Regions from separate parts of the Homo sapiens genome. Here regions 2, 3 and 4 are each linked to region 1. Evidence: promoter capture Hi-C in 16 types of primary human blood cells and fetal thymus (Javierre and others, 2016). All regions are on one chromosome and are shown on one strand. The core of a region is centred on a gene start or on the middle of the fragment in contact, and the rest is flanking DNA. Distances in the headings are between cores, read along the strand shown.

The links. The method cuts DNA at HindIII sites, captures the fragments that hold promoters and counts their contacts. A CHiCAGO score of 5 or more calls a contact.
Region 2: a contact is called between a fragment that was not itself captured here and the fragment with the promoter of RNF175 in region 1, in 1 of 17 cell types (neutrophils). The highest score is 5.1, in neutrophils.
Region 3: a contact is called between a fragment that was not itself captured here and the fragment with the promoter of RNF175 in region 1, in 1 of 17 cell types (neutrophils). The highest score is 5.0, in neutrophils.
Region 4: a contact is called between a fragment that was not itself captured here and the fragment with the promoter of RNF175 in region 1, in 2 of 17 cell types (neutrophils and M1 macrophages). The highest score is 6.7, in neutrophils.

The regions. Positions count from the first base shown.
Region 1 is chr4:153,758,343-153,761,552 of GRCh38, forward strand. RNF175 (ring finger protein 175) reads right to left here and starts at 1,682. Exons shown (of 9, transcript NM_173662.4): 1 at 1,455-1,682. The coding sequence starts at 1,520. The HindIII fragment of the contact is 8,763 bases long and covers 1-3,210 here.
Region 2 is chr4:153,569,360-153,572,569 of GRCh38, forward strand. The region is part of intron 7 of TMEM131L (transmembrane 131 like); the gene reads left to right. Among named protein-coding and RNA genes, the nearest start is that of TMEM131L, 100 kb to the left of the region's middle. The HindIII fragment of the contact is 4,820 bases long and covers 1-3,210 here.
Region 3 is chr4:153,593,190-153,596,399 of GRCh38, forward strand. It overlaps TMEM131L (transmembrane 131 like), which reads left to right. Exons shown (of 35, transcript NM_001131007.2): 19 at 610-682; 20 at 3,069-3,196. Among named protein-coding and RNA genes, the nearest start is that of TLR2, 89 kb to the right of the region's middle. The HindIII fragment of the contact is 2,123 bases long and covers 667-2,789 here.
Region 4 is chr4:153,617,435-153,620,644 of GRCh38, forward strand. All of the region lies in intron 26 of TMEM131L (transmembrane 131 like), which reads left to right. Among named protein-coding and RNA genes, the nearest start is that of TLR2, 65 kb to the right of the region's middle. The HindIII fragment of the contact is 2,135 bases long and covers 715-2,849 here.

The DNA of each region.
Region 1 (3,210 bases), core at 432-2,931:
CCAGGTAATGCCTTGGCTGCTGGTTCCTGGACCACACTGTCTTGCCATATGGGATTAAGGGAAAAGCTGTGAGTCCCTCCTAGGGCAGCCTCAACAGAGAGGCCATACCTCCTGAGGGCAGCAGACTAGGCAGTGATGCCAGCCTTAAGGAAGAGCAAAGATCAGCAGCAAATCCACCAGTACTAGATCCTCTGACACTCCTGGCATGCATTCATCAATTCAGAACCTCCCTTTCGATAATCTGGGTTTGAAACCAGCAAGAAAGTCATGGAGTTTCATTTTAAGTTTCCCCATTTTGTGGTACACAAGCCCCTCCACAGCCTAGCCCACCCTTATTTTTTGCTATAAGCATTCCTGACCCCTAGGTTTCTGGCAGTCAGAGTGGACAGTCCCCTCTCTCTGCCTTGTCCCATGGCCATCCATCCCAATATTAAAAAAAAAAAAATCTCCAAGCCATTTGGTACTGTTGTTCCCTCCATCTAGAATTCTCTGGCCCATGAGGTCAGATCCTGTCCATTCCCCAACACCCAGCTCGAATGCCACGCCCTCACGGGTTGGAGGAGAAGGGGGTTAGTCAGGAGCAAGCCCTTCTCAGAAATCCTACAGTTCTTTGCCTGAACCTATTTTGGGACATTAATCTCTTCCTACCCGCTCTGTGAGTGATTTTTGTTGTTGTTTAAGAGTTATCTTTGCCCTTAAGAGTTATTTTTGTCCTCGTTTTACGGATGGGATTTGGGTTCCTCCAGGTAAGACCTACCCTCCTCCACCCCCAAATCCTCCTGGTACCTGGATGTAGCCTAAGAAGAATTGTCCTATGAACGAAGAATAAATTAAGATTGGGTTTGCAATTGACGCCAGCAGAAGCAGAAATGGGCTAGGTTGAGCACCAGGCAAGACAAGCTGACGATCAGGGTACACATCTTGAATCAGAAACCCTGGGCACAGACCAGCAGTCTGCGTGGTAACAGGCCCTCCGAGTGATTCTGATGACACTCGAGTTTGAGAACCAGGGCGGTCTAGCCAAAAGCCTGCAGTACACCCCTTCCCCTCTCTCGCAGCTTACGACCTTGACCCTGGGCTCTGGGGGCTTCCGCCGAGGAGGGAGGAGGGCACAGGCGGTCACAAAGGAGGGCGGGAGTGGAAGGGGTGAGCCTGGAAGAGAAAGTGCGAGGATGCGAGAAGAGGGATGGAGCGAAGGAAGAGGATCAGAAGGAGGAAAGGAAGGTAGCGGGGAGGGCACAGAAGTGGGGAGGGAGGGAGTGGAGGAGGGACTGGCACCCCGCACGGTGGCATCTTCCAGAAGGTCATGCGTCCGTCCCCACGTCTTTCCAGGGCCGGTTCTCCCCGGTGGGGCCCGGGGTCTTGGAGACCAGTCTGTGCAGCCTGCCCGGCACCAGCGTGAGCCCCGGGACCCCGGCCTGGCGTCCCCCACGCCCGCGCCCCCGCGCCAGTACCTGCTCCTGCTGCGGGGGGGCCTCCAGCACCGGCGCTGCCTTCCGCGCCGCCGTCCCCGCGGCCATGCCTGAGCCACTGTGCCTTCTCCAGGGCACAGCGCCTGCCGGGGAGGGTCCCGCAGAGTCCGCAGAAGGAGGCGCCGCGGGGCCTCGGGAGCCGAGGGTGAGAGCCGGATCTGCGGCGGCGGCGGAGCGGCGGCCCTGCCCGGGTTGTGCGGGGCGGGAGATGGGAGCCTCCCGGCACGCCCCGCCTCCGCCCCCTGCACGCTGGCCAGCGTCCTCCCCAGCAGCGGCCTCGAGGTCCCGGTCGCCAGCACCCCGGTTCCTTCAGAACCTCAGGCCTCCCATTCAGCCAGCCATTGTCGCCGATAAAGCGTCTTGAGCCCTACCGGGTGCGTGTGGCGGGAACCCCGGTTTTGTTACCGGGCGGCAGGACTGGAGGAGGGGTCAGAGGTGGGTAGGGAGAGAGAGGGGAGTAGAGGAGTGAGAAATGGCGGTGGGGGGGCGAGGGGTGCTGGGGAGGAAGAGAAGAGAGAGAGAGAGTTTCCTCTCCCTCAGAGGTGTTTATTAGGAGGCAGGAGTTCGGGTGGCTGTGCAGATACAGACTTTCCTCAGTTATCTGTGCTTCCTCCAAAGATGATGAAGGAGAGAAACTCCAATCTAGGGAGAGCGCAGACCATCTTGGCCCCTATGCTGCTCCAGGCCATGCAGGGCCCCTGCGACGCAAGCATCTTGCCTTTGCCCCTCTACCTCCAGGGTCTCCCCTCCCGCCTTTACAACTTAGGCCTAAGCCTGGCTTCAAGGTTGAGAACAAGCTGGAACGTTTAGGCAAGCCTTTAGAAATACCTGGGTGTTGATTTGGGGAAACAGAAAAGAGGAGCACAGAATTAGATGATGTGTCCTACGAAATACAGCTTACCCCTTTCCAGTTTGTGATGGCTCGTATTTGTCAACACCTACAAAGGAGGTGAACAGACCAAGATGGACATTTCTCTGCCATTGTGGAACGTAGAGCCTAACAGGGGATAGAGAAAAATAAGCATCTAAGTACAATTTATCACGGATGGTGCCTTGGTTTTCCAGCCTTAACTGGGCATCAGAATCCTATGGAGGAATGCTGAGTTTGTTAAAACTCAGAGTGCTGGCCAAGCACAGTGGCTGATGCCTTTAATCCCAGCACTTTGGGAGGACAGGGCGGGCGGATTGCTTGAACCTAGGAGTTTGAGACCAGCCTAGGCAACATGGTGAAGCCCCATCTCTATAAAATATACAAAAGTGAGCTGGGCGTGGTACACCTGTAGCCCCAGCTACTCAGGAGGTTGAGGCTGGAGGATCGCCGGAGCCCGGGAGGTTCAGGCTGCAGTAAGCCGTGATGGAACCACTGCACTTCTGCCTGGACAACAGAGCGAGACTCTATCAAAAAACAAAACAAAAATCTTCAGATTGCTGGAGTTGAGCCCTAGAGTTTTTAATATAGTAGGTCTAGGGTGGAGCCTGAGCATTTGTCTTTTGAACAAGTTTTCAGGTGCCGCTGGGGCTGTTACCTACATCTGAAGACTACCTTGTAGCATGATCAGAGTGTGTTGGAAAGAGTGTCTGAGATGGAGAGAACAGTGGATGCAAGGGCCGGAATGCTGGAGAAGGCATAATGAATTGGAGAAATAAAAATCATGGTTAACATTGATAGAATGCTTACCGTGTGCCAGGTGCCGTCCTGAGCACTCTACCTGTGTTAGCTCATTCAGTCTTCCTGACA
Region 2 (3,210 bases), core at 319-2,818, 190 kb before region 1:
TGCCCCTAGACAGCTTTGAGATGGATTAGATAAATTCACTAATAATCTGCCCCAAGGCCACACTGTAACCAGGGTTGAAAGTTCACATCTTCCTCTGTTTCCCCATCCCAAATTCTTTTCAACTGCAATATCCGGTACAGTTTATCAGAGCTTTTGTGATGCGATTAAATAACAGTGTTAAAATATGGCAGTAGAAAATATCAGCCATATAAAATGCCTGTCATAGAGATGCATAGTGGGAGTGAATAAGAGGGTGAATTCCAAACCAGACCACCTGGCTAAAAATCTTGGTTCTGAGTGACTGTAGCCAAGTTACCTAATCTCCCTGTGTCTCAGTTTATCTGTAAAATATGTAATAATAGCCCTTTCGGATAGGGTTGGTGTAGCAATTGAATCAACCAATTTATTTAAAGAGCTTAGAACTAGTCTCTGGCACATAGCTGAAATGCCTTAATCACTTAACTTTTAAAAAGAACCTTCTGAATATAAACCCTCTTCTATTATGAAACTCCGGGAGAACTTTAATATTCAGAGATTAGAACCCCCAACGGGACATGAAAGTTCAAGGCTATGGTAGTGTATCCAGTTATCTTGGCCTGTGAGTTAACATTCAAAGAATTTGAAGTCCTCTTCAATTTCTTGTTTTTATTTTATTTTATTTTATTTTTATTTTAATCAGAAGTTCTCCATGCCTCTGTGCAGCTGGGGAACTTTTAGTAGCTACAGGCTGGATTTGTTCTTGCTAGAATGTGCGTGGTTTCCCCACGGTTTCAGAATTTATAGTGGTTCAATAGTAAGTCATTTGAGCCTCACTTGAATCTGCAATCTTAATGAAACGCACAAGAATAACAGATTATTAACTTCACATCCAAAAAAATTGGAAAACGTGTCCCCCCACTTCCCAGCCCTCCAAGCACTAATTTTAAGCAGAATCGTCCCTAGTACTTCGATTTACCAAAGAGAGGGAAGGAAGTTGGAGAGAGCCTCACCTTGGTTTCCGCTTGAATTCATGCTGGTTGTGGAGTCTCAGACCTTTGCACTTAACGCTTGGCAGGGAGAGATCACCATTAGTCAGGAGGCTAATCTGGGTACTTTGGGGGTTAGAGAGGAGCCACCTGTGCATACCACTGCTCTACTCAGGAAGGGGCACCTGAGATGCTCTGGCCTTCCCTCAGAGTTTATAAATTTGCCTGGCGGTAGCCGACATACTCGGCCTGCCTTCCTTCTGTTTTCCATGTGTGGATTTCTGTTTCTTCCTTGGGCCCTTGTTTCTGGCATCTCCCGGCACTTTTGTGCTAGTGGTATGGAAGCTGTGTTAGGAGCAGAGCTTCTGCAGTCTGTGGGCAGTGACGTTGAGATCTGTGCACAGGGTGGTTTCCATTGCCTCTCACTGTGGACTTGCGGGGGCTTCTGAAACCTGCTTCTTAGGGAAGTTTGTTTCCTTTTTGTCCACTTATTTCAACTGGAGTGGTGTTCTCAGCAGATGCCCTGAGGTGAGCAGTTGTTGACACTTTGGAAGTGTGAGTCCATCAGGGCCTAGTGGTGATAGTTCCTTCTTTTTCTGTGTTAGTCGGCTGTTCCCCCAGGACTTGCTTGTTCTCCACTGTTCAATTTAACCAGCTTTTTGTGTTGCTCTCTTTCTTTTTAAATTAGTACATTCCTTTAATTTTTTTTTAACTTTTTGGTCTAGATATTTATTTTCCCTTTAGATCTTTCTCTAGATTTTTTTCGGTGTGTTCTCCCAAAGCAAAAGAGATAAAATCAAGTTCTGGGTCTACTAAAAACATCTATAGTTCAAACAAATCTTTTTTCTGTTTGTTGCGTTGCATAATCTTACATAAGAGATACTCTCCTGTCAGCCCAGTATCCCAGTCAGGCCCAGGCTCGGTTTATCTTGTCCTGCCTGGTTCTCCTTTAATGGTTTCCTCTTTGCTGTGCCTTCTTTTGATTGAGTCCTAAATGCCATAAACTTCTCAAGCATATTCCCTCAGGGCACAAGCAGTAATTGTATCTCCATTGAAAAATGCACTGAGCATTCCACACTCACCTTCCTGGTTTCCTTTCACCTGTCCAGGTTTGTGTAAGGCTTGGTGTAGCCGCCTCAGTCTTTGATGGTAGAGCTCCTTAATTGTTTACTATGGGGGATTTAAGTGTATTTCTTCACAGTTCCTAGAACTCAATCATGGTTTCTTAATTATTTTTATTTTTACTTTTGTTTTAAGACAGGGTCTTGCTCTGTTGCCCAAGCTAGAATGCAGTGGTGCAGTTACAGTTATTACAACCTTGGCCTCCCGAGCTCAGGTGATCCTCCCTCCTCAGCCTCCTGAGTAGCTGGGACTACAGGCATGTACCACCATGCCCAGCTAAGTTTTATATTTTTTTGTGGAGACAGGGTTTCACCATGTTGCCCAGGCTGGTTTCAAACTCCTGAGCTCAAGTGATCCACCTGCCTCGGTCTACCAAAGTGCTAGGATGACAGGTGTGAGCCACCATGACTGGCCTATTTTTTGAGGAACAATTCCAGTCTGCTGAGATCTTGCCTGTCTTCCTTTATTAGAGTCTTTTAAAAGCTCCATTTAGCACAGATATATTTCATTTTGAATACCTGCACAATGAGATCTCAAAGTATCTCCACTTCTCTTTTTATATCTGTTTAACCTGACTTTCTAGATGTTGTTTTCTTTTTTTTTTCCTTTTTAGTTGGCATGTAATAATTGTACTTAGGTATGGGATAGAGAGTGCTGTTTTGATACTGTATACAATGTGTAACGATCCACTCAGGGTAATTAGCGTATTATCACCTCAGACATTTATCATTTCATTATGTTGTGAACATTCAAAATCCTCCCTTCTGGCTTTATTGTAGTCAACTGCAGTCACCCTGTAGTGCTGTAGAACACCAGAACTCATTCTGTCTGTCTAGCTGTAACTTTGTGTTGGTTACCCAGCAAGGTTTGGTTATTTCTTTTTTGTTTTGTTTTGTTTTTTGAGACAGAGTTTCGCTCTTGTTGCCCAGGCTGGTGTGCAGTGGCGTGATCTCGGCTCACTGCAACCTCTGCCTCCCGGGTTCAAGTGATTCCCTTGCCTCAGCCTCCCAAGTAGCTGGGATTACAGGTGCCCATGACCACGCCCAGCTAATTTTTGTAATTTTAGTAGAGATGGGGTTTCACCATGTTGGTCAGGCTGGTCTTGAACTCCTGAACTCAGGTA
Region 3 (3,210 bases), core at 478-2,977, 170 kb before region 1:
ACAATCACAGTTTTACTTAGAATGTTTCCAGCTTCTCGTTTAGTAAGATCGACCCTTATCCCAGGGTTTCTCAGCTTTCGCAGTATTGGTATTTTGGACCAGATGGTTCTACCATTCTGTTTGGTGGGGGTGGGAGGAGCCATCTTGTGTGTTGAAGGATGTTTAGCAGCATTCCTGGCTTCTCCCACTAGATGCCAGTAGGAACTCCCCAGCTGTGACAACCAAAAATGTCTCCAGACGTAGCCCAGTGTTTCCCGTGGGATAAAATTGCCTTTGGTTGAGAGTCACTTTTTTTTTCAAAAAAGTTGCTTTATATTTAGAGCTTCTGTCACCATATGCTTCCTTACATCCTGTGATGCCAAAGTCATTCATTTAGCAATATTTATTGATCATTGACAATATGGCAGATATGGGTGTGGGAATGTGGGGTGGAGCTGGGTGGGAATGTGGGGTGGAATGTCGGGTGGACAGGATGGGATGAATTTTGTGTGTATGTGTGTGCAAATGTACTCACCTATGTATAAATGTATATATGTGCACACACTTATTAAATCTTTCTTTACTGGCAGATGTGAGTGCTGTTTTAAACATTTGCTTTTTTCCTTATAGGTTTGGCACTGATATGCAGATGATTAATTTCACAACTGGTGAATTCCAGCTCACCGAAGCTTGCCCTTACCTGGTAGGATGTTATCCTAAAACAGAAAAAAGAATGCCGACAAACTAGACACATGAGCATACGGGCCTCATTGATTTATGTTTAAAATGTCTTTTATTTACTATATATGGCTCTTTTATTTTGATTCTCTGGGCATTAACGATACATAGCAGATTTTTCCAGTTAACTAGTGCGGTAGGAGCTGGGTTTATGTTAGCTCTAAATCATTTTAATTTGATTATTTAGAATCATGTGAGTAAAGAAATAACAGTTGAACAGAGCTTTGTAGAAAACCATGAAACTTGAGACCCCAGAATTTATAATTCTCTTAAGATTCCTTGGCCCTCAAATTCTTTTTTAGGGCAAGATAAGGAAAAACAAATACATTAAAAAAAATCTTCTCTTACTAAACTGTGTTCCTGTTTTTAGCAAGTCACCCAATTTCTGTGATGTTTACCTTATCTATAAAAAAGGACTACTCTAAAATTCTTAAGCCTGTGGGCAGTCATGAGGTCTTGCCCAAATACTTAGGAGTAGGAGTAAACATGTCATGTGGTGAAGATGCTATTTGCCTGGGGACTTGGCAGCCTTACTTCTCAGTTTCCACTCAGTCATTCCGTGGCTATTTATATACAGCTGAGTGTTGGCCTTACAGGTATTCTGTGTTTGAGATCAATTCAAAAGTGGAGCATCTGTTGACAAAAAATACATACATACACATGTAAACTCACATATGCGGATAACTCTATTTTTACTACACTATATTTAAGCGCCTTGGGTATTTTCTTCTTTCTTTATCTTTATCCCTCCAAAAATATACTGTTGGCTCTAGATTACTTTCAATAACAGAAGGAGGGAGACCACAGATAACCCATTACCACAGACTCTCCTTTCTTTTCTTAAGTGTTGAGGCAGCACTGGGCGAGTTGGGGGGAGTGGTGAAGCCGTGCACCCAGGTGTGGTTTTATTCTTGTTAGCGAGTCTGCCCCTCTCTCTCCTTCTCATTTTCTCCACCAGGAGGTCTTCAAGGCTATTCAGGATAATTAGTCCAAAATACTAAGTGATATCTTGCCTCACTGGTATTGAATCATGTATAGCTTGAAATTCCAAAAATAATGCCCGTTTATTTTAAATCTAAATATTCTATTTAGATGTGAACAAATGATGTAACTCATTTGGAAGAAGTTTTTATCTATGACTGTTTTTCCCAAGAAATATTATATATTTTGGGATAAGAGAAATTATTACTATTGTTAATTTATTACATTGATGAAAAGAATAGTTAATATCAGTGCCTTGAAAACACTGAGTTAAAATTTAACTCAGAATTGTTATTAGAATTCTTCATCATGTAAAGAAAGGCTTCCTGCATTTTGATTTTGCTGATTTGCTTTTAGAAATATAGTTCCTTGGGTTAAGAACATTGGAGTTTTTTATATACCCTAAAAATGTCAGTGCCTGGCATATAAGAACCATTTAATAGAGGTGCTGTTTTTACTATAAGTTTAACACCAAAAGTCAGCAGCTTTTAAATTCAGTATTCATATTACCTGCGTAAAGCAGGGTTTCTTCCTTCATGGAGTTTATAATTCTAATAAAAATGAATCAAATAATCAAATACTATTACTATTCTCTTTTTCAGATGGCATGGGTAACACTAGCAATAACTGAAACATAAAATTAAAAGTTAAAAACAAAGAGAAATAATATTCTTCAGGATTATATATTAGCTCTAAGAAGTGATACATTGCATTGTTTTTAGTGAGATGGAGCTAGAAAAAGCAGTGGAAAGAGGGAAAGTCCACTTACCAAAAAGATAAAAAGAATTAAACCTTGGATACTAAACTTAGAGCACAAGTTTTATGCCAAAAAAAAAAAAAAACACGACATCTTGGAGAAAATAGAGGAAGATGTGAATAAATAAAGATCTTTCTTCTGACTGGAGATACTAAATATAATAAAGATGATTTCTATATAAACTTAAATTCAGTATAAAGAATTTATATAAAGAGATCTTTGGGTTGTCCAGTGGTGGGTGAGTGGTCTTGTCAGATTGCTCTAGCATTCAAGCAGAGGCTGTTGGGTCTGTTTTCTGATTGATGTTGTACATTCAAAGCATCTTTGTGTAGAAAGCTTCTAGCCCCAACTTCCATTCAAACCAGGAAGCAAATCCCCTCTCCAGCATCTGTGTGAGGTTGTCTTGTAGTCTCTGCCTATATTTCTTAGCTATGGCTCAGAAGCTGTTTATTGGAGTGAACTCTCAGGATAAGCAAGTTCTAACAGGTTGATTAGGAGGATCAAATCTGGACATTAAAAGAGAAGCAATCGTGTTTAAACTCTAGGATGCACTTAATGACAATGGAAGCTTGCTTTCTAGGAGTATGACATGGTTTAATTTGTTAATTTGCAGGGTACGCATTCTGAGGAATCCAGGTTTGGCATCCTCCACTTACATCTGCAGCCTTTGGAAATGAAAAGGGTTGGCGTAGTTTTCACACCTGCTGACTATGGAAAAGTTACCTCACTCATACTAATCCGGTAGGTGTGTTCCT
Region 4 (3,210 bases), core at 532-3,031, 140 kb before region 1:
ACATGTCATGTCTGAGAATGCTACTTTCATTCTCCTCTGTGCGGCAAAAATTGTTTGCAAAATCTTAGTCAGTGTGATAGGTGAGCAGTTGTGTTTTGGTTTTCTTACTAGGGAAAGGTGAGCATTTTCCTTCATTTTTTGTAGAAGGCTGAAAAACACAAAAAAAACTATCCATCCAAAATGCTACCACTGAAAAGAAGTTCTGGAAATGTAGAGGTAAATGTCTAACCTAGTTCTGCTTCCACACTTCAGAGGCAGACACAGTGAACAGGATCCTGCTTCCCCAGCCATTTCCTAGTGCTTATGCATCATAAACACATTTGTGTTTTCTAAAACCAAAATGGAAAGAGGAGACACAAGGTAGTCTATAATTCACCTTTTCTAAAAACATTATTTTATGATGGAATATTTTAGACGAGCTCTTCGTGGTTTTTTTTTTTTTTGCTTTTGCATTTGTTTCATGAATTTATATTTCATGTCCTTTGCCCATTTTTCTTTTGAATGTTTTATTCTCTGTAAGAGCACTTTCTGTGTTAAAGATATCAACTCTATCAAATATTGTGTATCAGAGATTTTTCTTAGTTTGCTAAGAAACTAAGCAAACTTAGTTATTGCTTATTTGATTTTACTTATACACAGTGAGTGGCTTTAAGAATGACTTTTGCAGTAAGTTTGTGATTTCTCTTCTTTGATTTCTTCCTTTGCTTTTAGTAAAGCTTAGGAAATGTTTCTCCACACTGCCATCTGTGAAATCATCACCTCTATCAGAGAGATCAGCAAACGTAACTAGTTCAAATAGTTCAGCTGACGCAGGAGAATCTCTTGAACCCAGGAGTTCAAGACCAGTCTGGGCAACACAGCAAGACCCCATCTCTGCAGAAAATAAAAAAAAAATAGCTGGGCATGGTGGCACTTGCCTGTAGTGTCAGCTACTCAGGAGGCTGAGGTAGGCGGTTGCTTGAGCCTGGGAGGTTGAGGCAGCAGTGAACAATGATTGCCTCACTGCACTCTAGCCTGAGCAACAGAGCAAGACCCTGTCTCCAAAAAAAAAAAAAAAAAACCCACCAAAAAAACCTCCAAATAACTCAATAATAATGATGACGATAACTAAGTCTCATTTAAATGGCTTATGAGATGCTAGGTAATTTAGTCCACACAATGCTTTGAGGATGACTCGGGAAACTGAGGCAGAGAGGCTAAGTAACTTGCCCAAGGTTACACAGCCAGTAATCAAGGCACGAGATTGAAACTAGGCAGTTTAGCCTCCGAGATATACTCCTAATTGCAGCTCCATGTGACTCTTCAGTTTCCTGGTTAGTCCTGTCCTTCTCTCTCTGGGATCCTCTGCACCAGAAAGCAGGCAGGTGGTGCTTTGCTCTTCCTCGGATTTCTTGACAAGTCTGTTGCTGTGTGCTCTGGCTCACTTTCCCTCCCTGTTCTACCTGCTGTCTCCATTGCAGGCCTGTTCTTTCTCAGCCACATCCCTCCTCACTGCCCAGTGCTTCAGAAGGTGCTCCCTGCCACTCTTTCTGGGATATGTCTCACGCCTCTGAATCTAGCTTGTCCTGCATTCCCCTTTTCTTTGTCATACTCACGGAGAACTCTTTGATGCTTCTGGTCACCGAGTCCCGCCTCTCAGTAGTCCTGAATGTACTCACCCTTTCGCTTGCACAGGATGACAGTTCCAACCAGATGGATTTGAGAAAGGCAGCCAAGTATCAGTGACTGCTTACCAGCTCACGCTTTCTCAGACCCCACTGAGAGACTGATTTTTTATTTGTACCTGACCTTGGAGGGATGGATAGGCTCAAGTACTTGCTGTGTCGACAAGCCTTTGCTGGCCCTTGAGTGGACGGGGGTGGGAAACCTCCCCACCAAGTTAGAAAGACACAAAGGAACAATACATGAAGAAATGTGGTGCATGTCTGTTTAACATTAAATCCCGAGTCTGCATATCCTTCAGTTTAGCTTCAAACTTAAGCAATTAGCATAAGGTCCTGTACAATAGGGCTTTGTATGCTTAACTTGTCAGGTTTTTAAAATACCTTCAGAATCAGAAAAAGGTTAATACATACTTATTGGGGGAAACAAAGGTGTATAAAGGAGAAATAAAAAATGTCATAATCCCACTGCCTACGCAGTTACAAATCCCATTTTGCTTCTAGTTTTTATTTACTGTGGTGTGCACATTGCTTTAATAGATGCATAAGGGTTCTAATATCTCAGACATAGAACTTGTAGGTATTGCAGGTTACCTAAAACCTTTTTCTCCTTCCAAGTTATTCGTGTTAGTTGAGTGTATGTTTCAACTTCACAATTCCTACTCTGATTGCTGGGCCAACCTTCTGAAAGAGAAGGTAAAATGAGCCAATCTTTGCTTTCCATGAAGTGTGAATCCTTCAGTCAGTAGGAAGGGGACTCTTCTGGATCTAGGGAATTTGCCTCTGTGAGGTGCCTGGAGAAGATTTATCTTCCTCCTGAAAGGACCTAACACACTGAAGAGTTGTGTCTTTTAAGCCCTTGGGTCTCAGTGTGTGAGCTACCACCACCGCCCACCCACTGACAGTGTCTCTGTTTTAAGAGGGCAACATGTGGAAGGAAGAAGAATAATAAGGATTAGAATATGTTAAAGACTTGAGCTACTTCATAGTTTGAAAGGGCAAAGGGAATCCCTCTCCCGTTGGGTCTGTTAATAGACCATGCCTGACATTGAAAAGAGGAAAAGGCTCCAATTGAGGAAACTATACTTATTTAATACTTATGTATATAATGTTTATGCATCTCATGCTGATGCTTTTCAGAACCACATTTTTGAAACATCAGGCATATTCTTGCCTATTTACCTGAGAAGCTTACACTAGTTTGGAGCATTCTATAGAGATTTGGCTGTTCTCCTAAAGTTCGTCTATAAACAAAAACATAAAGACACAACTTGATCCTAAGTTGAGTTTTTACCTAATTTTTCTTCATAGTACAGTAATTTATGTGAGTTGCACATACCAAATTAACAGGTGAAGGTTGGAGGATTTATTGCTGCAAAGTTAACAGCAAGCTGGTCATAAATTGCTAGCAGATGTTTTTCCTTTTTAGCCTCTTAGGAATTTTATAGGCAACAATTCTTTTTTCTTCTTTTTCTGTGGAGCTTGAGGGAAGTAGCGCAAGAGGGGAAATGAAAACAAACTAGAGGCTGAGCAACATACTTCTCAGTTT